Linked DNA regions of Homo sapiens: all the other regions are linked to region 4. The links are contacts of gene promoters, found by promoter capture Hi-C in blood cells and fetal thymus (Javierre and others, 2016). All regions are on one chromosome and are shown on one strand. Each heading gives the region's core, a stretch centred on a gene start or on the middle of the fragment in contact. The rest is flanking DNA. Distances are from core to core; before and after follow the strand shown.

Evidence for each region. Contacts are between HindIII fragments. The CHiCAGO score rates a contact against its expected background, and 5 or more counts as called.
Region 1: a fragment that was not itself captured here is called in contact with the fragment with the promoter of ENSA in region 4 in 5 of 17 cell types (fetal thymus, erythroblasts, megakaryocytes and 2 more); the score reaches 8.8 in fetal thymus.
Region 2: a contact is called between a fragment that was not itself captured here and the fragment with the promoter of ENSA in region 4, in 1 of 17 cell types (fetal thymus). The highest score is 6.7, in fetal thymus.
Region 3: a fragment that was not itself captured here is called in contact with the fragment with the promoter of ENSA in region 4 in 1 of 17 cell types (endothelial precursors); the score reaches 5.3 in endothelial precursors.
Region 5: a contact is called between a fragment that was not itself captured here and the fragment with the promoter of ENSA in region 4, in 1 of 17 cell types (naive CD4 T cells). The highest score is 5.1, in naive CD4 T cells.
Region 6: a fragment that was not itself captured here is called in contact with the fragment with the promoter of ENSA in region 4 in 3 of 17 cell types (fetal thymus, erythroblasts and endothelial precursors); the score reaches 9.8 in fetal thymus.

Annotation. Positions count from the first base shown.
Region 1 is chr1:150,998,580-151,002,668 of GRCh38, forward strand. MINDY1 (MINDY lysine 48 deubiquitinase 1) reads right to left here. Exons shown (of 10, transcript NM_001376665.1): 2 at 3,586-4,089; 3 at 3,146-3,203; 4 at 2,671-2,735; 5 at 1,878-2,036; 6 at 1,283-1,385; 7 at 790-932. The coding sequence starts at 4,038. Among named protein-coding and RNA genes, the nearest start is that of MINDY1, 6.3 kb to the right of the region's middle. The HindIII fragment of the contact is 1,422 bases long and covers 1,176-2,597 here.
Region 2 is chr1:151,051,295-151,055,351 of GRCh38, forward strand. It overlaps CDC42SE1 (CDC42 small effector 1), which reads right to left. Exons shown (of 5, transcript NM_020239.4): 3 at 3,722-3,832; 4 at 2,937-3,027; 5 at 1-2,033. The coding sequence ends at 2,953. It overlaps C1orf56 (chromosome 1 open reading frame 56), which reads left to right. Exons shown (of 2, transcript NM_017860.5): 2 at 1-126. Among named protein-coding and RNA genes, the nearest start is that of C1orf56, 5.6 kb to the left of the region's middle. The HindIII fragment of the contact is 6,723 bases long and covers 1-4,057 here.
Region 3 is chr1:150,903,455-150,907,420 of GRCh38, forward strand. All of the region lies in intron 1 of CTXND2 (cortexin domain containing 2), which reads left to right. It overlaps LOC107985204 (a long non-coding RNA gene), which reads right to left. Exons shown (of 3, transcript XR_001738231.2): 2 at 3,548-3,637. It also overlaps the pseudogene CYCSP51. Among named protein-coding and RNA genes, the nearest start is that of CTXND2, 18 kb to the left of the region's middle. The HindIII fragment of the contact is 6,110 bases long and covers 1-3,966 here.
Region 4 is chr1:150,628,192-150,631,851 of GRCh38, forward strand. ENSA (endosulfine alpha) reads right to left here and starts at 1,421. Exons shown (of 4, transcript NM_004436.4): 1 at 1,223-1,421. The coding sequence starts at 1,279. LOC112268239 (a long non-coding RNA gene) reads left to right here and starts at 1,628. Exons shown (of 2, transcript XR_007066603.1): 1 at 1,628-2,311. RefSeq lists enhancers at 1,136-1,405, 1,148-2,115, 2,116-3,085. The HindIII fragment of the contact is 4,295 bases long and covers 1-1,751 here.
Region 5 is chr1:150,960,521-150,964,524 of GRCh38, forward strand. It overlaps SETDB1 (SET domain bifurcated histone lysine methyltransferase 1), which reads left to right. Exons shown (of 22, transcript NM_001366418.1): 16 at 43-671; 17 at 1,610-1,638; 18 at 2,067-2,199; 19 at 2,454-2,619; 20 at 3,010-3,221; 21 at 3,475-3,563; 22 at 3,727-4,004. The coding sequence ends at 3,844. Among named protein-coding and RNA genes, the nearest start is that of CERS2, 12 kb to the right of the region's middle. The HindIII fragment of the contact is 977 bases long and covers 2,213-3,189 here.
Region 6 is chr1:150,977,570-150,981,826 of GRCh38, forward strand. It overlaps LOC105371438 (a long non-coding RNA gene), which reads right to left and starts at 3,936. Exons shown (of 3, transcript XR_922135.3): 1 at 3,852-3,936; 2 at 3,635-3,744; 3 at 2,389-2,517. It also overlaps a transcript of ANXA9 not described here. RefSeq lists a cis regulatory region at 1-189 and an enhancer at 1-421. The HindIII fragment of the contact is 1,084 bases long and covers 2,440-3,523 here.

The sequences.
Region 1 (4,089 bases), core at 637-3,136, 370 kb after region 4:
TCTCCTGACCTCATGATCTGCCCGCCTCGGCCTCCCAAAGTGCTGGGATTACAGGCATGAGCCACCGCACCCGGACCCTGAGCATGCGGACCTTTTACAAATATGTGTGGCCTTGGGGGGAAGAAAGGGATGTCTGAGTGTATGTCCAGTTGGGTGTGAGCACGGTGGTCATTCTGGCTAAGCGTGGCATGGAGTCGTTGGGGCTGAGATGCCACATAAGACCCTGCTCCCCCCATTTCCCATTGTTCTCTGGGCTTGCCTGATGGCTCTTAGGATAAATCCTTTGAGAACCAGAGACCCCTCCCTCTGCTGCTCAAATCCTAGAGAGCTTTGGCAGTTTCTAACTTTTGAAGACCAGCATTGTTTAAAAATTCCACTGCCCCCTCCTAGGGGAGGATCATACTTTCCTGTCCCATCGACGGCAGGCTTATCCCTTATGGCTTGCTCTGGCCAGAAGATGTGAGCAGAAATGACATGTGTCATTTCCAAACAGAAGCTCTAAGCATGAGTGCACAGTGCCCCTCTCTCTCTCTGTTCCCACATATATTCCAGATAAAGGATCTTTTGTCAGCTGGGTCCCAGAGTGAAGATGGTGTGGGACAGAACCGTAGCCAGTCCACAGTGGACACGCACCAGGAGCGGGAAATGAACCTTTGTTGTGGTAAACCACAGGGATTTGAGGGGTCACTTGCTACCACGGCTTAATCTAGCTGATCCCAGCTGGACCCACGAGAAAAAGGCACCAGGAAATGACAGCACCGCAGCACGCCACCCCCAAACTCGCATTACCTTATGCTTAGTCATGGTGCTAAAGTGGTTGTTTCGGAAAAAGACGCTAAGTTCACCCTCCTTAGCAGCTGCTGTCAGCTCACACAGTCCGTGGTAGGTCAGCTGGGCCGCGGTGGTCTCCAGGAACTGCTCTGCAATCAGGCCTGCCAGAAAGGGACGAGTCGGGGGAAACTTGGCTTAAATTCAAGGTCCACAACAGGAAGGACCATCCAGAGAGCCCCTGTCAAAAGCCCCGGGGGGTCAGTCCCACCTTCTGACGTCCCTTTCTTGAAACCTGGCTGTATTCATTCACTTAACAAATACTTATAATAGAGCAGCTACCTTGTGCCAGGCACTGGGGATACCTCAATGAACTAAACAGAAATTCCCCAAGCTCCTTCTTGTGAAGCTTATATCTAGTGGGATGTGGTAGGAGATGACACCCAATAAAAAATAAGCCTAAGTAGCTGTCATTCCCTCCACATACTATCCATGAGAAGGGGAGGAATGTCACCTTCTGTCACGAGGTTGGTGTCACTGGAGTGTTTGCAGGTGATGATCCTCTCCACCAGCTGGTTGTAACTCAGTTTCCCAACTGCACGCACAGCCTCAGGACTCTGCTTGGGTAGTGGGATGTGGGATACCAAAAAAATTGGGATTTTTTTTTCTTTTTTAAGGAAGGAAATGAACAAAGCTCACAAGGACTACAACCCTGTGATGAATGGTTCCTAAACACTTTTTTTTTTTGGTCTCTCAAAAAAGAAAAAAATTTCAGGAACCATTCATCATAGGGTTGCTATGTTGCCCAGACTGGCCTCGAACTCCTCCCAAGTAGCTGGGAATACAGGCATGTGCCACCAAACCCATCTGCTTCCTGAATTTTTGATGTCTAAAGAACTGACCTATTTGCATGTAGTTTGCTTGTATTTGCATGTTACCCCCAAAATAGATTAAAATTCAAGGAATTCTGTACTGGGTCCAGTCTCTAAACACTATTTCCCTCCCAAGCCAATCTAACCCCTAACTCCCTAACCTCTACCCGACAAAAATTTGCCTCTCTCATGTCAGCTTGAGCTGGATAAGGTCCCAGTGGGCCCTCCCACCCTCACCTGTGGATCAACAAGCCAGCCATGGTACAGAGGTATGCCTAGCAGGTCAAAGACACTGCACTCGGGTGTATACTCAAAATCAGAGACGCCTGTGAATCGCACATTGACATCCAGACCTGTGGCCAGTTTAGGCAGCACTGTCATTGCATCATCCACATTCTGGGGGTAGAAAAAAAAATGATGGAGATTCTAGCCTTCTCTCCCACCACTCCACTCCCACCTGCAGAAATTAAAAATTAACCTTGCTGCTCTTCTTCCCTGATTCTCTTACAAGCCACTCCATTTCTCCCTTGCCTCAACCCTTCTCTATCTTATATAAATGAACATTGTTTTTCTTTGAGAGTCTAAGTCTAATTCTTTCATCCAGGCTGGAGTGCAGTGGTGTGATCCTAGCTCACTGCAGCCTCAAACTCTTGGTTTCAAGTGACCCTCCCACCTCAGCCTCCTGAGTAGCTGGGACTACAGGCACGCACCGCCATACCTGGCTAATTCTTGAAAAAAAAAATGGTTTTTTTTAGAGACAGGGGTATTATTATGTTGCCCAGGCTGGCCTCGAACTCCTGGCCTCAAGTGATCCTCCCGCTTTGGCATCTCAAAGTGCTGGGATTACAGGTGTGAGCACCCGGCCAATGAACATATTTTCTAGGACAAAGATAAACTCTCCTCTGACTCCTGCAGAATGAAATCATGGTTCAAGGAAACCTCTGAAGAAGCAACAAAAGCTTATCTTAGTATTACAAGATGTCCCCTTACAAACCTGCAAACCCCTATGCCTGCAGACCTTTTGCCTCACCTGCTGAAAATTAAGCTGAAGTCCCTCTGACTTCTCCTGGGGCTTGATGGACAGGAGGCAGTTTCCTACAAGACAGGGCCCCTTATCAGCTTACCCCACCAATCATCCCAAAAGCTAAGTTTCCTCTTCTCCTGGAGAATGCGGGTAATGTCACAGAACACAGATTTTCAGAGCTGGAAAATACTTAGAGTCTAATCCAGACTCTTCATTTCTCAGAGGAGGCGACAGCCTCATAAAGGTGAACGGCCCACCCAGGGTCAGATACAAAAGCTAAGGGCAGAATTGGTGTTACAACCCAGGACTCCCGACGCCTTTGCTTTTCATTCTCCAGCCTTGCAGAGAAGCCCCATAGACCCTTACCCTCCCTGCTGTATCAGAACCCCCAAATGGAGATCCCTGAATAGTCTGGATTTCTGGCTGAGTGGATAGCTCTGGAGCCCCTTGGGTAATTCCTCTTCAACGCCCAGTCACTCACCAAGATGGGCCATGAGCTCATCCGATGTGATCACTTCCTTCTGCGGGGGGAGCTTCACCTGGAGGCAGAAGGGGTGATCACGTGTGTGCTTTCCTCCAAAGAGCACTGAAGGAAGAACCCATGGAAAGGCAAGGGGGAGCTCCAGTAGTAGGGTGGGGTAGGAAAAAAGGCTTGCAACTGGCACAAGGGAATGAATGTGAAATCTTGCAAGGCATGTGCATTTGCTAGGGAGTAGGAGATACAGGGGTAGGACAGATCTTCCTCTTTTTTTTTTTTCTTTGTTTTTAGGAACATCTTATCTCATTTGCTCAAGCTGGAGAAATAGGGAGAACAATCTGAAAAGTTTTGACTAGTTTGAGGACATCAGGATGATCAAGGAAGTAAGTCAGGGAAGAGTACTCCCTGATATTTTTTGCACCCCTAACTGCATGTTCTCTTACCTTCCACTGAAGAAAGAGGATGTTCATGATGGCAAGGAGAGGGCAAGGGCCGTTAGTGCTCTGGGTGATGATGGGTGTCTGTTCTCCTTTCCAAGGGATCCACTTGACACAGTAGAAATCTGGCTCAGGCTGTCGGGTCCTGGGGGACTGAGGAAGCTCCTGGGGCATGGAGCATGCCCTTATTGTCTCTACTTCAGGCAGTGTCCCAAGGGTTGGCCCCGGTGGAGCTGAGCTAGCTTCAGGCAGAGGGGACTCAAGGTTGTCCCCACACTGGCTAGGCAGCAAAGCTTGGTCTGCTGGCTCCCGTTCTCTAGCCTCCCCATCAGCATCTCTTGCATCTGTGTCCTGAGGGTGCTCATCTGGGCCTGCCAGAACCTCATGGTTTTCAGGGATGACTGCTTCTGCAGTCCCGGCCTTACCAGGGGCTGGATCCTCAGGCTGATGGTATTCCATGGTCAAAAGGGACTTGGCTGAGGGGCACTGAAGGTGTTTACTAACCTCAGG
Region 2 (4,057 bases), core at 1,054-3,553, 420 kb after region 4:
TACTTTCAGAGCAACCAGCTTGACTGGAACTGAGAGTAAATTGGGAATGTATGACCAATCTTAGACCCTGAAAAATGGCAGAAAATACATGGAAATTTGAAAAAAAAAAAAAAAAAAAAAAAAAAAGAACCTCAGTCACTGTTCTGTAGGGATAAGCAAACTGAATGGGTGGTGGAATTGGCAGAATGGATACCAGTTCCTACATTCCTGACCCCACTACCATAAAACAGGATGTTTCCTGTTGCAAAGCTAATGAGACCCCACCCTTCTTGTCTCAGAGCAGGCAGGAGCTCATCTGTCTTGTTCTGCCTTCCTAATTACCCTGGAAGGGCCAGAACGAAGAACACCTGAGAATACTGAAAGTGCCTAAAAACCCCTGCTCCTACGTTGTTTTCCCATTTAAAGCAGACTCTTCAGCCAGGGGGCAGTGGGACCTGGTCTTCAGACAAAACTCCCTGAGTCTAATGTGTGTCTAGGACTAGGGCACAGAAATAGAGCTTAAAATTTGGGGAGGATAAGGAGTGTATCTACTGCTTCTCTCTCCCCTTTCCCCAATCCTACCATACCCTGTTCATATCTCTACACTGCAGGAACCACTTCTCCAGAGGGCAAGAATGGAGGAGGGGGACCTGTCCATCATAGCAACATGCAAACACAAGCAAAACACTGAATAAAGAATTGTTTGGAGATTATGTGCAGCCCTACTGAGCCTCATTTATATGGGCTCCTAGTTGATCCATGGCTCGGGCTTAAGATGAGTAAGATGATGAGGGTAGCGTGCCAAGCAGAAATCACTTCAGAGAAAAATATCTTGACTTTAGAGTTGTGGTTCTCAAATGGAGGCGATTTTGCCCCCTAGGAGAAATCTGGCAATGTATAGAGACATTTTTGGTTGTCATAACTAGAGTGGGCCAGGGTTGCTGCTAAATATCCTGTAATGCACAAAATAGGAAACAGGTTTTCCTTACAAAGAACACTTCAGCCCAAAATGTCAAAGGCATCTCGGTTGTGAAACCTTGTTCTAGAGCCTCTCCCTGCTCCCGTGCTGTGAGGATCTTAAGACTCCTAAACTCACAGATGATTGTTTTCAACCTATTTATCTCACCATCCTCAATGATCAGAAGTCCACCTTGAGATGGACTTACTCCTAGTTCTGCCGCATTCTGGGTTTCTTTCCAGACCCCTCTTCCTCCTCTCACCTGGGCCAGCAGGGAGGTTGGCAGAGGGCAGGAAAGATGCCCCAAAACTTAAATGGAATGTCATCAGGTGAAGAGCTACCTCTTACCTTAACTCTTATTCGGTGGGAAACAAGGTTCCTAATAGGGATAGAGTTAAGGGCGGAGGCAACAGCAGGATGAGGATAATTAAGAGAACCTGAATTAAATTTTTAATATTTTAAAAAAGGAAAGTTGCTGGGAAGCTGGTAAACAGAAACAGAAGATTAGAGGCCTAACTAGAAAGAGACACTGGTGTTAGCAGAGAGATATTGAGGGGCTGTAAGCCTAAGGTTTGAAATCTAAAGATAGAGTGGAAAAGGGAGTAGGCACCCCCACCAGCCCCTGCTTGACATCTGCTTTAGTTCATTCCAGCAGGAAGGAGGAGAAGGGCAGGGAGGTAGGGAGCTTCTCAGCAAAGCCAGCTTCAGCTTTGATAATCTCACCCACCTACCCCATTTAAGGAGTTCCAGGTTTAAGAGTTTAAAAACAGGTGGCACCCAGACCATCATTCAGGAGACAGGAACTCATTCCAGGTTCCTAGAGAACTCCTATCTCAGACCTGAGGGTTTCCAGGGCTTCAGCTGAGCTCCTCTGGCTAACCAGTAGTCACTTGATCAGTCCTGCTGCCTTGACCCCATCTCCAGGAGGGGCTATGGCCAGAGGGAGTAGAGGGAGTCCAGCCCCCAAGCCTTGTGAGGCACTGTTAGGCAGATAGGGAAAAGAGGGGTCCTTAGATCACTGGTTCAAGGAGGGATCTGGTAGGGGCAGCATTTCTTCTGGGCTGGAAACAGAATGGGGGTTTCAAGATGGCAGAACCTGAAATAAAAAAAAAGTTTTTCTTAAAGAAGATTAGCCTCAAAGAAAACCAAGGCTTTAGGAAGAAGGCACTACCTAGTGCAGACTTTAAGCTATTTCCACAGTGTGTTCTTTACTTCTGTCTGCACAACACCCTCTCAGTCTTTCTATATCCTACATTCTTTTTTTTTTTGAGATGGAATCTCACTCTGTTGCCCAGGCTGGAGTGCAGTGGCGCAATCTAGACTCACTGCAACCTCCACCTCCCGAGTTCAAGTGATTCTTCGGCCTCAGCCGCCTGAGTAACTGGGATTACAGGCGTGTGCCATCATGCCTGGCTAATTTTTGTACTTTTAGTAGAGACAGGGGTTCACCATGTTGGCCAGGCTGGTCTCAAACTCCTGACCTCAAGTCATCTGCTGACCTCGGCCTCCCAAAGTGCTGGGATTATAGGCGTTAGCCACCATGCCCGGCCTAGATCCTACATTCTTGAATCTTCCCTTCTAATTCCTCCCTATCTCCCATTCTTTTTTTATATTTTGAGATAGAGTCTTGCTCTATCACACAGGCTGGAGTGCAGTGGCGCGATCTCAGCTCACTGTAACCTCCGCCTCCCAGGTTCAAGTGATTCTCATGCCTCAGCCTCCCAGGTAGATGGGACTACAGGAGCACGCCACTGTGCCCGGCTAATTTTTGTATTTTTTGGTAGAGACAGGGTTTTGCCTCGTTGGCCAGGCTGGTCTTGAACTCCTGGCCTCAAGTGATCCACCCATCTCGGCCTCCTAAAGTGCTGGGATTACAGGCATAAGCCACCATGCCCGGCCACACCTCCCTTTCTTGCATAAGATCAGGGTTCTGAGTCAGGGTATCAGGTTGTGCTGTTATGGGGGCTGAGGTGTTAGATGGGTTTCTCTAATCACTCACCATTCCATTATTGGAGCTATAAGCCCCTAGAATTGCTCCATGGCCTATCTCGGTTTCCCTTGGATCTCATCTGCTCCTGAACTGCACCTGTCTGTAAAAAAACAGATGCGAGACACCTTCGTAAGTCTTCATATCCTACAGTAAGAACTCTACTTTGTGCCTTCCAGGGAAGAGGCTGACGCCATCTCCTTGACAATAGCAGCCATCTGCTAACCACCATTCCTCCTAGGGGAGTCTCAATGCCTCTTTTCACACTGGCCTTCATGAGGATGAGGTAAAATGGGTCTTTTACTAATAATATTCCCTCACAATGGATTCTCCCCTATATATCTGAGTTTCAGGATCTGAGAAAAGACTATCTCTAGACCCATTTCCCTTATTTTGGGAACAGAAGTGCATCTTAGACATTATTTAGGATGAAGGTACTCAGCTTTTTTCCTGTCCCAACACTCCTAAATATATGATTTACTGTGGCACTGAGATAGCAGTTCTTAATTAGGAGAAGGGAGAGTTATAAGTTTTTGGAAAAAGCCCTCCAACTATTAAGATATATATACCCCCTACCCCAGTGAAGAACAATCTGCTAAGTTGTAAAGATGAGAGAACCTAGGCCCAGACACCTAAAATGCCAGGTCTCGGGTTTCCACAACTGGTGACCAGGACTAGAATCCCAGGTTTTTACTTCCCCATTGAGTATTTTCATATGTCCCTAGCTTGAACTTTCAAAAAGAGGGAACGGTTATAGACCTCACCCCTGTATCAACCTCTCCCCATTTCCTTGTTACCATGGCAAGTCCATCTCCGGCCCCCATCTCCCCTGAGCCAATGTGAGTCAGGTGAACAAAATTCATTGGTTCCCCAATCATGGTCCGGTCAATCCGTCTTCTCTTCTTCTTCTGCTTGGAGAAGATAAGGAGTCATGTCTTAAGGCCCCTCCTCCAGTCAGCACGGAGGAAGGGAAAAGAGTCTTCAAAACCACTGAAAAGCTAAGGGCCTGGTGGGAAGAGGGGATGTGGCATTTTAACAGGGAAATCACTAGGGCATGAAAGGCAAAGCTGGAACAACAAAAGCACACAGAAGACATGAACCAGAGTAGTGAGGGCAGTGGCCTGCAGAGTGAA
Region 3 (3,966 bases), core at 1,177-3,676, 280 kb after region 4:
ATTAAAAGATACCAGTATGAGATGAAAAAATAAAATAAAATTAAAAATAAAAATCACCCTTCTGGCCAGACATGGTGGCTCACGCCTGTAATCCCAGCACTTTGGGAGGCTGAGGCAGGTGGATCAGGAGGTCAGGAGTTCAAGACCAGCCTGGCCAACATAGTGACACCCCGTCGCTACTAAAAATACAAAAAATTTGCTGGAATGGTGGTGGGCGCCTGTAATCCCAGCTGCTCGGGAGGCTGAGGCAGGAGAATCGCTTGAACCTGGGAGGCAGAGGTTGCAGTGAGCAGAGATTGCGCCATTTTTGCCCTCCAGCCTGAGCGACAGTGTGAAACTCCGTCTCAAAAAAAAAAAAAAATTGCCTTTATGGAGAGAGTGGGATGTCCGGCTTCAGAGTGGTAACCTACGTTGCACCAGTGATGAAAAAGAGAATTAAATATGGGTGATGTTGAGAAAGGCAAGAAGATTTTTGTTCAGAAGTGTGCCCAGTGTCACACCGTGGAAAAGGGAGGCAAGCACAAGACTGGGCCTAATCTCCATGGTCTCTTCAGTCAGAAGACAGGTCAGGCTGTTGGATTCTCTTACACAGATGCCAATAAGAACAAAGGCATCATCTGGGGAGAGGATACGCTGATGGAGTATTTGGAAAATCCCAAGAAGTACATCCCTGGAACAAAAATGATCTTTGCCGGCATTAAAAAGAAGGCAGAAAAGGCCGACTTGACAGCTTATCTCAAAAAAGCTACTAATGAGTAATAATTGGCCACTGCCTTATTTATTACAAAACAAATGTCTCATGAATTTTTCATGTGTACCATACTTTAACAGAGCTTATACACCAGAATTCAGATCATGAATGACTGACAGAATATTTTGTCGGACAGTCCTGATTTAAAACTAAGACTGGCTTGTGGTTAAATGAATATGTTCAGTTTTTGAATTTTAATAGTAATTCCAATTCAGTAAATGCTATCACTGTTTACCCCTTCTAAAGATATGATTAGACTTTGTTAGTAATGTTAAACTTTTCACAAAGATGGTGAGTACCATCTTCAAACTTACTGGAGATTGGTTTTATATTTAGATTTATATAACTGGTTATGTGAATATATTTGAATACTGGAGAAATTCCTTCACTGTCTCAGAACCAAGCAAGATTCACCTGTGTTTTGTGTCCATAAAGGCAAGGGTTGAAGATAAATAAGGTAGTAATGTCTACTTTATATTTTTGGCCTTAACTATGCCAATCTAATTAGAATTCCCTGTATTTAAAATGGTTCCTTTTACTTATTGAAAGACATTTTAGTGTGTTTTATGTGTAATATCAAAGATTATTTAGCATTTCTCACATTTTATAAATGATCTATAAGGTCACATGCTTTTAAAATAGTAGCAAGTTAAACTTCACTCTTGAATGCTTGTCAAACTAAGTTATAATTTAGGATAGTCTTTAAACAGCCATTCAGAAACATAAAACTGTAGAACTGCTATGTATTTGTGATTGGGAATGATGCTTTTGCCAACTTAAAAGGATTAAAGTAGAGGAGATACACACAAATTTTAAAATTATGTGTGATCATAAGACAAGATAATCAAAAAGAAAACCACACACACACACACACACACACACACACACACACACACACAAATCACCCTTCATAAGGAACTTGCAGAATCTGCCAATTCTTTTTTTTTTTTTTTTTTTAGGCCGAGTTTCATTCTGTTACCCAGGCTGGAGTGCAAGGGTGTAATTTTGGCTCACTGCAACTTCTACCTCCCGGATTCAAGTCATTCTCCTGCATCAGCCTCCCAAGTAGCTGGGACTACAGGCACACACCACCATGCCCAGCTAGTTTTTGTATTTTTAGTAGAGATGAGGTTTCACCATGTTGGCCAGGCTGGTCTCGGACTCCTGACCTCAGGTGATCCCCCCCAACCTCGGCCTCCCAAAGTGCTGGGATTATAGGCATGAGCCGTGGCACCCGGCCTTATCTGCCCATTCCATCTGCACATCTGGGAGGAGTCCAGGGGGTGGCATGAAAACCCAGTGTAAAAGATATGAGTGCAACTTACCCTGTTGCCCCAGAATTGTGGTCAAGTCTTATTGAAGGCACAATACTACTTATAATCTAAAGAAAGCTGCAACAATTAGAGCCAGAACCTCTTCCAAATCTCATGAGAAGATGGCGTAGTCAATCGTATATCCACCAACTCCCACCCCTTGTCCCACCACAGTATATATAAAGAATAAGGCCGGGCGCAGTGGCTCACGCCTGTAATCCCAGCACTTTGGGAGGCCGAGACGGGCAGATCACGAGGTCAGGATATCGAGACCATCCTGGCTAACACGGTGAAACCCCATCTTTACTAAAAATACAAAAAATTAGCCGGGTGTGGTGGCAGGCACCTGTAGTCCCAGCTGCTCGGGAGGCTGAGGCAGGAGAATGGCGTGAACCCGGGAGGCGGAGCTTGCAGTGAGCTGAGATCACACCACTGCACTCCAGGCTGGGCGACAGAGCGAGACTCCATCTCAAAAAAAAAAGAAGGATGAACTGGGGCCGGGTGTGGTGGCTCATGCCTATAATCCCAGCACTTTGGGAAGCTGAGGTGGGCAGAGGGTTGCTTGAGCCCAGGAGTTTGAAACCAGCCTGGGCATCATAGTAAGGCCTCGTCTCTACAAAAAATTTAAAAATCAGCCAAGTATGGTGGTGGGCACCTGTAGTCACAGCTATCCAGGAGGCTGAGGCAGGAGGATCACTTGAGCCCAGGAGGTTGAGGCTGCATTGAGCTATGACCATGCCACTGCACTCCAGCCTGGGTGACAGAGTGAGACCCTACCTCAAAAACAACAACAACAACAACAAAAAGAATGAACTGGGAGGGCAACTGGGAATTCTCATTATCGGCATTATGGGATGTACAAAATTTGTGATGAGAAGCAAAGATAAAAGTACTTCCCCTTCCTCCCAAAGCCAAAGATGAGGGCATGCCAAGAGAGACATTGGTACAATTGGTGACACCAGCAAGGAGAGACTAACAGCATTTCATTCCCTAGATAGATGCTTTAAACTGTAGAACCTGCCAAACCACTCTGGTCAGGTTGGAGTAAAGCATGGTGTGAGTTTTTAACCTGTGCAAACATAAAAAATCATGTCAATTTCTTGGCTACAGAGATCTGAAAGTGGAAGGCCCACTGGAATAATCTGTGCTGGCAGGGTTTATAGGTACCTTGGCAGAGTATGCCTAGGAAGAAAATGTGGCCAATCCCCCCAACCCATCACAGTCTGGCCACTCCCCTTGAAGGACTTCAGGTGTCTCCGAAGGAGCAGGAGCAGTGGGAGGTGCCAGGAGACCACTGTACCAAGCCATGTGATATCCAACGTGAGTTTAGGTTGGGAGAATAGAGGATAAGCAGCACCATTTGAAGGGGTCTTCAATGACAGAAAAGTCCAGAATGAAGAGAAACGCTACTCAAAAAACTACAAACATCCTTCACTCTGAAACCACCAGATCTAACCAGAGTAAGACCAGGTCACCTACTCACAGTTGGCCACAGCTGATTCATTAAATAGAGAAACACTTCACATTTTCCCCTTCCTTTCTTCCTGATCCTGTACAATGCAGAAGAAGAAGCCTGAAAAGGGAGAAGAGCTAATAGAACTCTAAATCCTCTATAAGATTAGGAATTTAAAACTGAACTAAGGTTTTACAAAAACCAGCTTTATTAAGATATAATTCACATACAATTCAACCATTTCAAATGTACAATTGAATGGTTTTTAGCACATTCACAGAAATGTTTTACCATTACCACAGTTGTAGAACATTTTTATCACCTCCAAAAGAAAACCTGTATCATTTAACTTTCACCCCCTCATCCCCCACCTCCAGCTCTAAGCAACCACTAATCTGTCTCTATAGATTTCTCTATTCTAGACTTACATGTGAATGGAATTATATAAT
Region 4 (3,660 bases), core at 171-2,670:
ATTGCTACACGACAAAGCAGTTCCTTCTTTATTCAAGGTCTAAGCCACCTGTTAGGTCTCCCTGTGGAGGCGGCTAGCTATGTGGCCTTCTCCAAAGATCTCCACCTGAGTAATGGCACAGCCTTGCTTCAACATTTCCACAAATATTATGGTAGCAAGCTGATAAACAGAGAGGAAAATGATACTGTTTTTAACCTCAGGAAAACAAAGATACAGTAGGCTCACTAGTATTTACCCACCAGTTTTCATCAAAAAAATCAATACCTACCCTGGTGGTGCAGGGACTCTCACTACTGTAGTCAATCTCTTTTTTTTTTTTTTGTGGTCCCTGCTGCCCTTTAGTGACTTTTTGAAAAGATATGAAGTCAACGTATGACTCTTTTTAGTGGAATTATATTCCTTTCTCTTGGAAATTACGCATAGATATAACACCAAGTGTATTTAATGAGTACCTGAACCCAGTACTAAATTTTAAAAGTCAAATACAAACCCCAATAAGGGGTTTATTTGGCGTTAGTGTTTCCATCACGGAATCGCAGGTGCACTAAGTCCCTGCCTTGGAAGTCTAGGGGAAGAGAGAAGTGTCTTTCTCACGACCCTGTCGGCGTCTTTTCCAAGTTTAATTACCATGATTCTGTTTGGAACTCTAGCCCTCTTCAATATTGCTGGGTCCTCACTGAAGGTGAGCAATAGACCATCCTTAGCTACTAAAATAGGTCTCTTGAGAAAGTTGCCGCCTTAAACTAGCCATTATAATAACTACACTTCTCCCCTCCCCCAATACTGGTTTTTTTTTAAACGTCTTTACCTCGACCCCTATCTTTGCGGATTGAGGCTGCGGGCCCCAGCCCGGTTGCTGGGTCACTTACCTCTACAAACCAATAACACACATCACACCCAAGACCACCAGCCATCCCCTTTCCATTCACCGTCTTTCCAACCACCCGCCCCACGTCCATGCTCGGCCAATTATAGCACAGCGTCCAAGGTTTGAGCGGTAGGCCTATTGGCCAATCAGGAAGAGTACAGTACTGAGTGACAAACGACCCAACTAACCAGCGCCAAAGCAGCATGTCGTGTTGAAGCTCACCCAGCGTGACGCAAAAAGTGGCCAACCCCTGCGGAGCCTGAGACCATGGCGACCAATCCGCACTGGTGGGAGACCGTCTCCCGCCCCATCACGGTCTCCCCAGCTCGCCCGCCCGCACCCCTTCCACTTCACCTGCTTCTCCTCGCCGGTCTCCTCCGCAGGGTTCTCTTCTTCTTGTTTCTGGGACATGGCGGGACCGGGACTGTGGAGTGTAAGGGGCCCGGGAAGGCAACCGGAGAAGGGAAGGGGGAGGGGAAACGGGGACAACCTGCGCTGCTGCTTCGGCTCCTGTCACTAGGGTTGCTCAGTCAAAATGGCGGCCCTTGCCCGTGACGTTGCGACCGCCCCTTCCTATGAGAGCCAGTGGGAGTGAGGTAGATAGGGCAATGACGTAACGATCTACCAATAGTCGCCGTCTAAAGGTGGGCTCTATAGAGGCGACCGGCAAGCTGGAACACCAACCTGGAAAGAGAGTGAGCCACAAGGACCAATTGGAAGCCTGTGGGGGATATCGGGGGCGGGGCTGCTGGCTGTGGTACTTTTGCAGCTTTGGTGGGCTCCGGCTTCCTTCACTCCAGCCCACCGCGTCCGAGAGACTTAGCAGGGCGTCAAACTGGAGAGCGGAAGGATGGAACCTTTTATTCTCAGGTGGAGAGGATTAAGCTTTGCGGTGTTAGCAGAAAATGATCGAGCTCCAGAAAATGATTTGGAGGTCAGATTCGATTTTAAAGTAGTACTAACAGGCCGGGCGCGGTGCCTCACGCCTGTAATCCTAGCACTTTGGGAGGCCGAGGTGGGCGGATCACCTGAGGTTAGGAGTTCGAGACCAGCCTGACCAACATGGTGAAACCCCGTCTCTACTAAAAATACAAATATTAGCCGGGCGTGGTGGCGGGCGTTTGTAATCCCAATTACTTGGGAGGCTGAGGCAGGAGAATCGCTTGAACCCTGCAGGCGGAGGTTGCAGTGAGCCGAAATCGCGCCACTGCACTCCAGCCTGGGTGACAGGACGAGACTTTGTCGCGAAAAATAAAATAAAACGGTACCAATGGTATTACGATGTGTCACTTGGCCTGTGGAAGAGAGAGACTGAGTCTCAACCCGAGCTGTCTTGCAAAACACTAATGGCTTACGTTCCGTAGTTTCACTCTTATGTGTAGTTTTTATATTCCATCAGGGTGATCCCTTGGGGACTACGCTCCTTGAAACAAGGAGGACAGTGTAAGTATGTGGTAAACATTTGGTAAATACGGTTAATACTAGTTAACCTATCCAGAATTACAGTTTAACATTTCCTGGGCGTCTGTCTGTATGTGGATGGTACTGTGTTAGTTGGGGGGGGTACGTGTATAGTAAGGCAGTCTCTGCCCTTAGAAAGCTTACAGGCCTGGCTGGGCGCGGTGACTCACGCCTGTAATGCCAGCACTCTGGGAGGCGTAGGCGGGCGAATCACTTGAGGTCAGGAGTTCGAAACCAGCCTGGCCAACATGGTGAAACCCTGTCTCTACTAGAAATACAAAACAAGGCTGGGCACGGTGGCCCACGCATGTAATCCCAGCACCTTGGGAGGCCGATGAGGGTGGATCATGATGTCAGGCGATAGAAACCATCCTGGTCAACATGGAGAAACCCCGTCTCTACTAAAAATACAAAAATTAGCCAGGCGTGGTGGCGTGCACCTGTAGTCCCAGCTACTCAGGAGCCTGAGGCAGGAGAATCGCTTTTACCTGGGAGGCGGAGGTTGCAGTGAACCGAGATCGCATCTCGCCACTGAACTCCAGCCTGGGTGACAGTGAGAGTCCGTCTCAAAAAAAAAAAAAAAAAAAGAGTGGCAGATAAGAAGTGCTCTTTATGGAGATAATTTGGTGGTAATGAATAAAAAGACTCAGAATTCCAAGCAGAAAACTACCAGAGATGAACAGTCTAGCCGAGTCCTCTGCAAACGTTAGGTGGGAGATAATTAGGATTTAACCTAGAAACGTAGTAGTTAAGAATAGAAAATAGTGAACCTAACCAAGAGAGTCTGTGACAATGGAATCCACTAGACTAGCAGCTGACTGAATAGAGAATGAGAAGACTGTGTGCCTCAAGGTGATTATTTATAGAAACAATAAATTCAAGAAGAGGAGTCAATTTGGGAATGGAGCTGAAAAGCAGAGAGAAAATAAGGCATTCAGTTTTGAAAACATGGACTTTTTTTTTTTTTTTTTTTTTTTTTTGAGACGGAGTCTCGCTCTGTCACCCAGGCTGTAGTGCAGTAGCACAATCTCAGTTCCCTACAACCTCTGCCTCGCGGGTTAAAGTGATTCTCCTGCCTCAGCCTCCCGACTACAGGTGTGCGCCACCATGCCCGGCTGATTTTTGTATTTTTAGTAGAGACAGGGTTTCGCCATGTTGGCCAGGCTGGTCTCAAACTCCTGAACTCAGGTGACCTGCCTGCCTCGGCCTCCCAAATGCTGGGATTACGGGCGTGAACCACCGTGCCCGGCCTGAAAACATGGACTTTATTAAAAGCGAATGAACCATTTGGTGGAGACATCCAGGCAATGAAGACTTAGGATAAATGACCT
Region 5 (4,004 bases), core at 1,451-3,950, 330 kb after region 4:
TCCCCATAACCCTAGAAGGCCTTTAATTCTCTTCATTCTCAGGCAAAATCCTGACAGATGACTTTGCAGACAAGGAGGGTCTGGAAATGGGTGATGAGTACTTTGCAAATCTGGACCATATCGAGAGCGTGGAGAACTTCAAAGAAGGATATGAGAGTGATGCCCCCTGTTCCTCTGACAGCAGTGGTGTAGACTTGAAGGACCAGGAAGATGGCAACAGCGGTACAGAGGACCCTGAAGAGTCCAATGATGATAGCTCAGATGATAACTTCTGTAAGGATGAGGACTTCAGCACCAGTTCAGTGTGGCGGAGCTATGCTACCCGGAGGCAGACCCGGGGCCAGAAAGAGAACGGACTCTCTGAGACAACTTCCAAGGACTCCCACCCCCCAGATCTTGGACCCCCACATATTCCTGTTCCTCCCTCAATCCCTGTAGGTGGCTGCAATCCACCTTCCTCCGAAGAGACACCCAAGAACAAGGTGGCCTCATGGTTGAGCTGCAATAGTGTCAGTGAAGGTGGTTTTGCTGACTCTGATAGCCATTCATCCTTCAAGACTAATGAAGGTGGGGAGGGCCGGGCTGGGGGAAGCCGAATGGAGGCTGAGAAGGCCTCCACCTCAGGACTAGGCATCAAGGATGAGGGAGACATCAAACAGGCCAAGAAAGAGGTAAGCAGTGGCAGAACACTCTGAGAGCTATGGCTTTAACTTTGGTGCAGTAACAATGCAGTCTCACCATGAGTCTTTGCATGTAGATTATTCTACTTGATGGATATTTCTGTGGCCACCTCGTTATCTCTCCCCCTAACTAGCACATTCCTAGTGTTTGTTTAAAGAACCAAATTATTGACCGGGCACAGTGGCTCACACCTGTAATCCCAACACTTTGGGAGGCCGAGGCAGGTGGATAACTTGAAGTTCAGGAGTTGGAGACCATCCTGGCCAACATGGTGAAACCCCGTCTCTACTAAAAAATACAAAAATTAGCCGGGCGTGGTGGTGCATGCCTGTATTTCCAGCTACTTGGGAGGCTGAGGCAGGAGAATCGCTTGAACCTGGAGGGTGGAGGTGCAGTGAGCCGAGATCGCACCACTGCACTCCAGCCTGGGTGACAGAACGAGACTCTGTCTCAAAAAAAAAAAAATTATTTTAAAATCCACTTGCCTGGTGGTAGAGGGTGGACAAGTATCTGATTAATTACAAAATGAAAGATTTATAAGTGATTTTTTAATGTTAAATGCTGTTTCAAGTTATTCACATCATTGTTTCCTTCTACTAAAGTAGAGAAACAAGAATTGATTTTAAGTATCTCTTTGATGATTATGCTGCTTTCCACATTACAGATGGTGAAACTGTCCCTGGTTGATGTAATCCTGCTCGTGGTGTTTTCCATGAGCATTAAGCCCCATCACTGAGAAGGCTTAAAGGCTCCAGCCAGGGAGTGTAGTGAGGATTTCTGTCAAGTTGCAGAGTGGTTTACCCACCCCACTTTAGAATGTGTACCTGTCACTGGCTGATGTTATCTGTGGAGGTCATTTGAAGTCTGATTATTGGACTTGTTACCCGAGGCTGTGAAAGCATTTAACCCTTCACTTGTTCTTTTCCAGGACACTGACGACCGAAACAAGATGTCAGTGTAAGTGCCTTTTGTTTTGTTTTGTTTTGAGACAGAGTCTTGCTTTGTCACCCAGGCTGGAGTGCAGTGGCGTAATCTCAGCTCATTGCAACCTCCCCCTCCCAGGCTCAAGAGATTCTCCCACCTCAGCCTCCCTAGTAGCTGGGACTACGGGTGTGCACCACCATGCCTGGCTAGTTTTTGTATTTTTTGTAGACACGGGGTTTCACCATGTTTCCCAGACTGGTCTTGAACTCCTGGGCTCAAGCGATGCTCCCAAAGGGGATCCTCAGCCTCCCAAAGTGCTGGGATTACAGCCATGAGCTACCGTGTCCAGCCCAGTGCCTGTCTTTTTGACCTGTCTCCAAATCTGCCTTCTCTCAAACCTAGGCTAGAAGCCTAAGAAACAGCCAGTAACCTGTTGGCTTCATTCCTTCCCCTCCCATTAGAGTTACTGAAAGCTCTCGAAATTACGGTTACAATCCTTCTCCTGTGAAGCCTGAAGGACTTCGCCGCCCACCTAGTAAGACTAGTATGCATCAAAGCCGAAGACTCATGGCTTCTGCTCAGTCCAACCCTGATGTAAGTCACCTCAAGCTTATTCAGAGTCTAATAAAGGAAAATGGGCCATTGTCACCTCATCAAGTCCTTCACTATAATTACTGTTAGGTCTTCTCCTACTTCTTTAGCCTTGACTTCCTGCCTTATTTTCTTTCATCCAGCATCTAATCTTCCTCTTGCCACCGCCCTTTCCTGCCAAACCGTGGGTAACAGCAAGGACTTAAAGGAGCCCTTCCCATTTACTTCTCTTACTTCTTACCCTCCTGCTTCCCCAGGATGTCCTGACACTGTCCAGCAGCACAGAAAGTGAGGGGGAAAGTGGGACCAGCCGAAAGCCCACTGCTGGTCAGACTTCGGCTACAGCGGTTGACAGTGATGATATCCAGACCATATCCTCTGGCTCTGAAGGGGATGACTTTGAGGACAAGAAGAACATGACTGGTAGCCTGGAAAAATTTTGGGAATGGTGGGAAGAAATAGTAAGAAACTTGGGATAGAGCATTTTTTAAGGAAGCTAAAGAAGTAGTGGGTAAAAATTCAGATCCTAAGAATTGGAGCATCTCTGGGAGGGCTTTCTGACTCCAAGCTAAACTATTGTTTGACACATCCTCTCTCATTTCCATTTTTTTACTCTTTCCCCTCAGCTCCTTTGTCTAGCAGATCTAATTATGCTTGAAAAAAAAACCTGCTACTTAGGATCTTTGAGTTCCAGCTTATTGGTGTTTCTCAGCTGCAATGTTGGGAGAGAAATAGGGGTAGAATGTCCATTCATGATAGAATGTCTGTTCATGAGTTGGGATGGGTCCTGACCCCATTCTCCCTCCTGTCCAGGTCCAATGAAGCGTCAAGTGGCAGTAAAATCAACCCGAGGCTTTGCTCTTAAATCAACCCATGGGATTGCAATTAAATCAACCAACATGGCCTCTGTGGACAAGGGGGAGAGCGCACCTGTTCGTAAGAACACACGCCAATTCTATGATGGCGAGGAGTCTTGCTACATCATTGATGCCAAGCTTGAAGGCAACCTGGGCCGCTACCTCAACGTGAGACCCCTCTCCCCACCTCTAGATGCTGGATTATCCCATGGTCCTCAGATTTCTTTTAACATACTCTATAAGCCCTTTTCTTGTTATAAACTCTTGATCTCAAAGGATCTTAAAGAGGTAGCTTTCTTTCAAAGCATCTATTATAATGGGGAGGGTCAGATGGCATCATTTTTCTTCCAACTCTCACTCTCCCTGCAAAGCCAGGTTCAGTTTCCCTGGTTCTTATTTGATCCTGTCCTTAAACCTACAGCACAGTTGCAGCCCCAACCTGTTTGTCCAGAATGTCTTCGTGGATACCCATGATCTTCGCTTCCCCTGGGTGGCCTTCTTTGCCAGCAAGTAAGGAGTCAGGAAAGGGGATGACTGGGGAGGGGCAAGGACCACTGAAGTTCTAAGGGCCCCTCCTCCATTCATGATCCAACTCCACCTACATATTCAGTAACCCCAAGTGCCTGGGTTATCTGCTGTCTTTGCCACACACCATCCTTTTCTTCCTCTTCAGAAGAATCCGGGCTGGGACAGAACTTACTTGGGACTACAACTACGAGGTGGGCAGTGTGGAAGGCAAGGAGCTACTCTGTTGCTGTGGGGCCATTGAATGCAGAGGACGTCTTCTTTAGAGGACAGCCTTCTTCCCAACCCTTCTTGAACTGTCGTTTCCTCAGGAACTGGGTCTTCCTGATTGTTGAACCCTGACCCGAAGTCTCTGGGCTAGCTACTCCCCCCAGCTCCTAGTTGATAGAAATGGGGGTTCTGGACCAGATGATCCCTTCCAATGTG
Region 6 (4,257 bases), core at 1,732-4,231, 350 kb after region 4:
CCAGGCCTTCAGCCCCGAGTTTAGATATCTGGGCAGGCTTTGTGGATGGGCAAGCATACAGGGAGCCCAAATGTGGAAGGTAGGTTTTTTCAGGTCAGGTGGAACTGTTAACACTGAAGCCTATTTGGGTAAGAAGCAGAGCCTAGCTAGTACCTAATGGAGATTCAGGGGCCAGGAGTATCGGGGAGGAAACATTTCCTAACAGAGAGGTAAAATAGCCAAGAGGAGTTTCTATGTATTCTGAAATCAGGCAATGGAAAGTATTTGCAGAAAAGCAATGTAGGGACCAGGCGTGGTGGCTTATGCCTGTAATCCCAACACTTTGGGAGGCCGAGGTGGGTGGATCACCTGCGGTCAGGAGTTCAAGACCAGCCTGCCCAACATGGTGAAACCTCATCTCTACTAAAAATACAAAAGTTAGCTAGGCATGGTGGCACATGCCTGTAGTTCCAGCTACTTTGGAGGCTGAGGCAGGAGAATTGCTTGAACCTAGGAGGGTGAGGTTGCAGTGAGCCGAGATCATGCCACTGCCCTCCAGCCTGGCAACAGAGTGAGACTCCATCTCAAAAATAAATAAAAGGCTGGGTGCAGTGATTCATGCCTATAATTCCAGCACTTTGGGAGGCCGAGGTGGGCGGATAACCTGAGGTCAAGAGTTTGGGACCAGCCTGGCCAACATGGTGAAACCCTGTCTCTACTAAAAATACAAAAATTAGCTGGGTGTGGTGGTGGGCCCTGTAATCCCAGCTACTCGGGAGGCTGAGGAAGGAGAATCACTTGAACCTGGGAGGCAGAGGTTACAGTGAGCTGAGATCACACCACTGCACTCCAGCCTGGGTGACAGAGTAAGACTCGGTCTCAATAAATAAATAAATAAAAGCAATGTGGGACTTGGAGGCTGAAGAGGTGGACATGCATGAACAGTGGAGGCGGTGTATGTGGCTGCCTTTCCCCTGTATTCCACTGAGAGGGAGCCCAAATCTGCCTCGCCTGCATTGAGGGATGAAGAAAACACTGAGAGGCAGCTGAGAAACATGGATGCTAGTTCCAACTCCATGGCCTCGGGAAGTCACTCAGACTCCTTGAGTCAGTAATGAAAAGGTAGTAGATTAGAGGCTGGGCGCAGTGGCTCATGCCTGTAATCCCAACACTTTGGGAGGCCGAGGTGGGCGGATCACAAGGTCAGGAGTTCAAGACCAGCCTGGCCAACATGGTGAAACACTGTCTCTACTAAAAATACAAAAATTAGCTGGGCATGGTGGTGCATGCCTGTAATCCCAGCTACTCAGGAGGTTGAGGCAGGAGAATTGCTTGAACCAGGGAGTCGGAGGTTGCAATGAGCCGAGATCGCGCCATTGCACTCTAACCTGGGCAACAGAGTGAGACTCTGTCTCAAAAAAAAGAAAAGAAAAGGTGGTAGATTAGATCCTCTCTAAGATTTCCTCCAACTCTGCAATTCTAAAATGTACAACATGGGGAAGGAAGGTGATCAGTACAACTGTAAACAACTGCAATCCGGCCCTGAAGTTGAACAAAACAAAACCTAGGGAGAGGAATGAGTTTGTAGCAGGTTTCAATGCAGCGATTGTGAACGCATCACACACACACTCCTCACAGGCAAGGACTTCGCTTCTGCCATGTGACTGAGACTCTGTTGGACTTCTCCAAATTCAGAGTTCAGCCTGGCATGCCGGCCAGGAGCCCCTTGGAGAGATTCGGCGTGAGGAAACAGGAGGCCTCACGCTTCCTTCGGTTCTCCCTAAATCTGCTGGGCAGGTAGCCAGAAGAAACTCTGAAGGGTACAGAAAGCCGAGGGCCAGGGGGACCCCGGCTGCGGAGCTGCAGTACCGTGTTTACCCAGCCTAACTGCGGTCACCCAGTCTCCTGCATGTGTCTGAGGTCAGCCTCGGGGGCTCCCCTGAGTAGGTATCTACCTGAGGCTCTTCCCCTGATGCTACCTGCATACCAATTCCACCCAGGAACCTGGCGTCCTCAGGAGGCTGCACTTCCCAAGTGGGCTGAGACAGCCCCTTAATATGTGGGGCTGGAGCCAGAGACCTCAAGGGGCCACTAGGGGGCTCGAGACTCTCAGTGGCTGCTGACGCCCTCTTGTGGCCATTTTGGGGATTGGCCAGAAAAGTTTCAGAAGCGAGCCAAGATCGGAATTCTTAAGGAGGTAAGTAATAACAACAGTAACAGTTACCATATAACAATACTTATCGTTATATATTTGATAACATTGTGACATTTCTACTTAACAGCGCTGTGCCCAGAACTCTTCTAAGTGCTTTATATGCACTGTAGTTATTTAATTCTCACAACAACCTATAACATAAACACTATTACTTGTCTGTTGATGATGAGGAAACTGAGCACAGAATAGTTGCCCAAGGTCACACAGAAGACCAGAATCCCGACTCTGAGAAGTCTGGCTCCAGAAGCTTTGCTTTTAGCCACCACGCTGAGACTGAGTTCCATTTTGGGGTTGTCAGGTGAAATACAGGACACACTGTTAAACTATAATTTCAGATAAACAAAAAATAATAATTACAGGCGGTGGCTCACGCCTGTAATCCCAGCACTTTGGGAGTCCAAGGCAGGTGGATCACGAGGTCAGGAGTTCGAGACCAGCCTGGCCAACATGGTGAAACCCTATCTCTACTAAGAATACAAAAAATTAGCCAGGCATGATGGCAGGCGCCTATAATCCCAGCTACTCGGGAGGCGGAGGCAGGAGAATCGCTTGAACCCGGGAGGTGGAGCTTGCAGTGAGCCAACATAATGCCACTGCACTCCAGCCTGGGCAACAGAGAGAGACTCCGCCTCAAAAAAAAAAATGTTAGTATATTTAATGAAATATTTGGGTCATACTTGTACCAACAAATGATTCCTCATTTACGTGAAATTCTGATTAAGCTGCATGTCCTGTATATTTATTTATTTAATCTAATACCCCTACTTTACAGGGCACTTTTCTCTGCCACATGCAATTACACAGATTACTTTTTTTTTTTTTTTTTTTTTTTGAGACGGAGTCTCACTCTGTCGCCCAGGCTGTGGAGTGCAGTGGCGCCATCTCAGCTCACTGCAACCTCTGCCTCCCAGGTTCAAGTGATTCTCCTGCCTCAGCCTCCCGAGTAGCTGGGATTACAGGCATGCGCCGCCATGCCCGGCTAATTTTTTGTATTTTTAGTAGAGACGGGGTTTCACTGTGTAAGCCAAGGCTGGTCTCGATCTCCTGCCTCATGATCCACCCGCCTCGGCCTCACAAAGTGCTGGGATTACAGGCATGAGCCACCGTGCCTGGCCACATTACCTTATTTATTTATTTATTTATTTATTTATTTTTATGAGTTCAATAGTTTTTGGGGACAAGGTGGTGTTTGGTTACATGGATAAGTTCTTTAGTGGACACATTACTTCATTTAATCATCCCAGGAAACCTGTCCTCGGAGGCCCCAGCATGTCCCACAGCCTCCGTCTCTCTCAATCCTCCCATTTAGAGAGCTGAAAGGACTAGCGAAGCTTACAGAACATAGGTGGCAGAGCTGGATATTGAACCCTCATTCTCCAGTTCTGACACAGGTGCATGTTTTCCTTTTAACAGGAGAGAAAAGTGAGGAGCAGTGATTACCGCCACAGAAATATCCTTTCATGGCGTGTCCTCCGGCATGGTCTACTCAGTGTGGTGGAGCCACTGCAGGTCCCTCCTCCAGGGATGTAGGAATGCCAGTGAAGGCCTTCCTGAGTTGGGAGAGAGGCAGAGGAGTGAGTGGAGGCAGGGCTGTAGCTTCTGTGCCCCGCCCCTACCCAGGCTCTCCAGGGAGGCAGGAAAGAGGCTGTGTTTAGACCTGAGGGAGCCAGCTGTGAGGCTGGAGCAGTTGCTGCATGGCGGGGCGGGGGCTCCACAGGGCTGTTCACCTGCTGCTCTGTGCAGAGACAGCCTCAAGTCCAGCTGCTGGGGTTGCATCACCTGCAGCTAAAACAGCCACAGGGCCCAGGCTGCCAAAAGGCAACAGAAGCAATCTAAGAAACCAGGCAAGGGAGCCTCCCCCATCTCCCTGTTGCCTTTTGGGAGCATAGAGCTTCCCTCTGAAGGTAACACCCTTTGCATTTTTCTCTCTTGACTCTGTTCATCAACTTCCACTCCCAAATACTTGTGCCCTTCCTTCTCCACAGATATACACAATCCCTGGGCACTCTCCACCTAGGTCAGCTGGCTCTAGTAAGGCAGCAGTCAAGGGAGTTTCTGGGCTG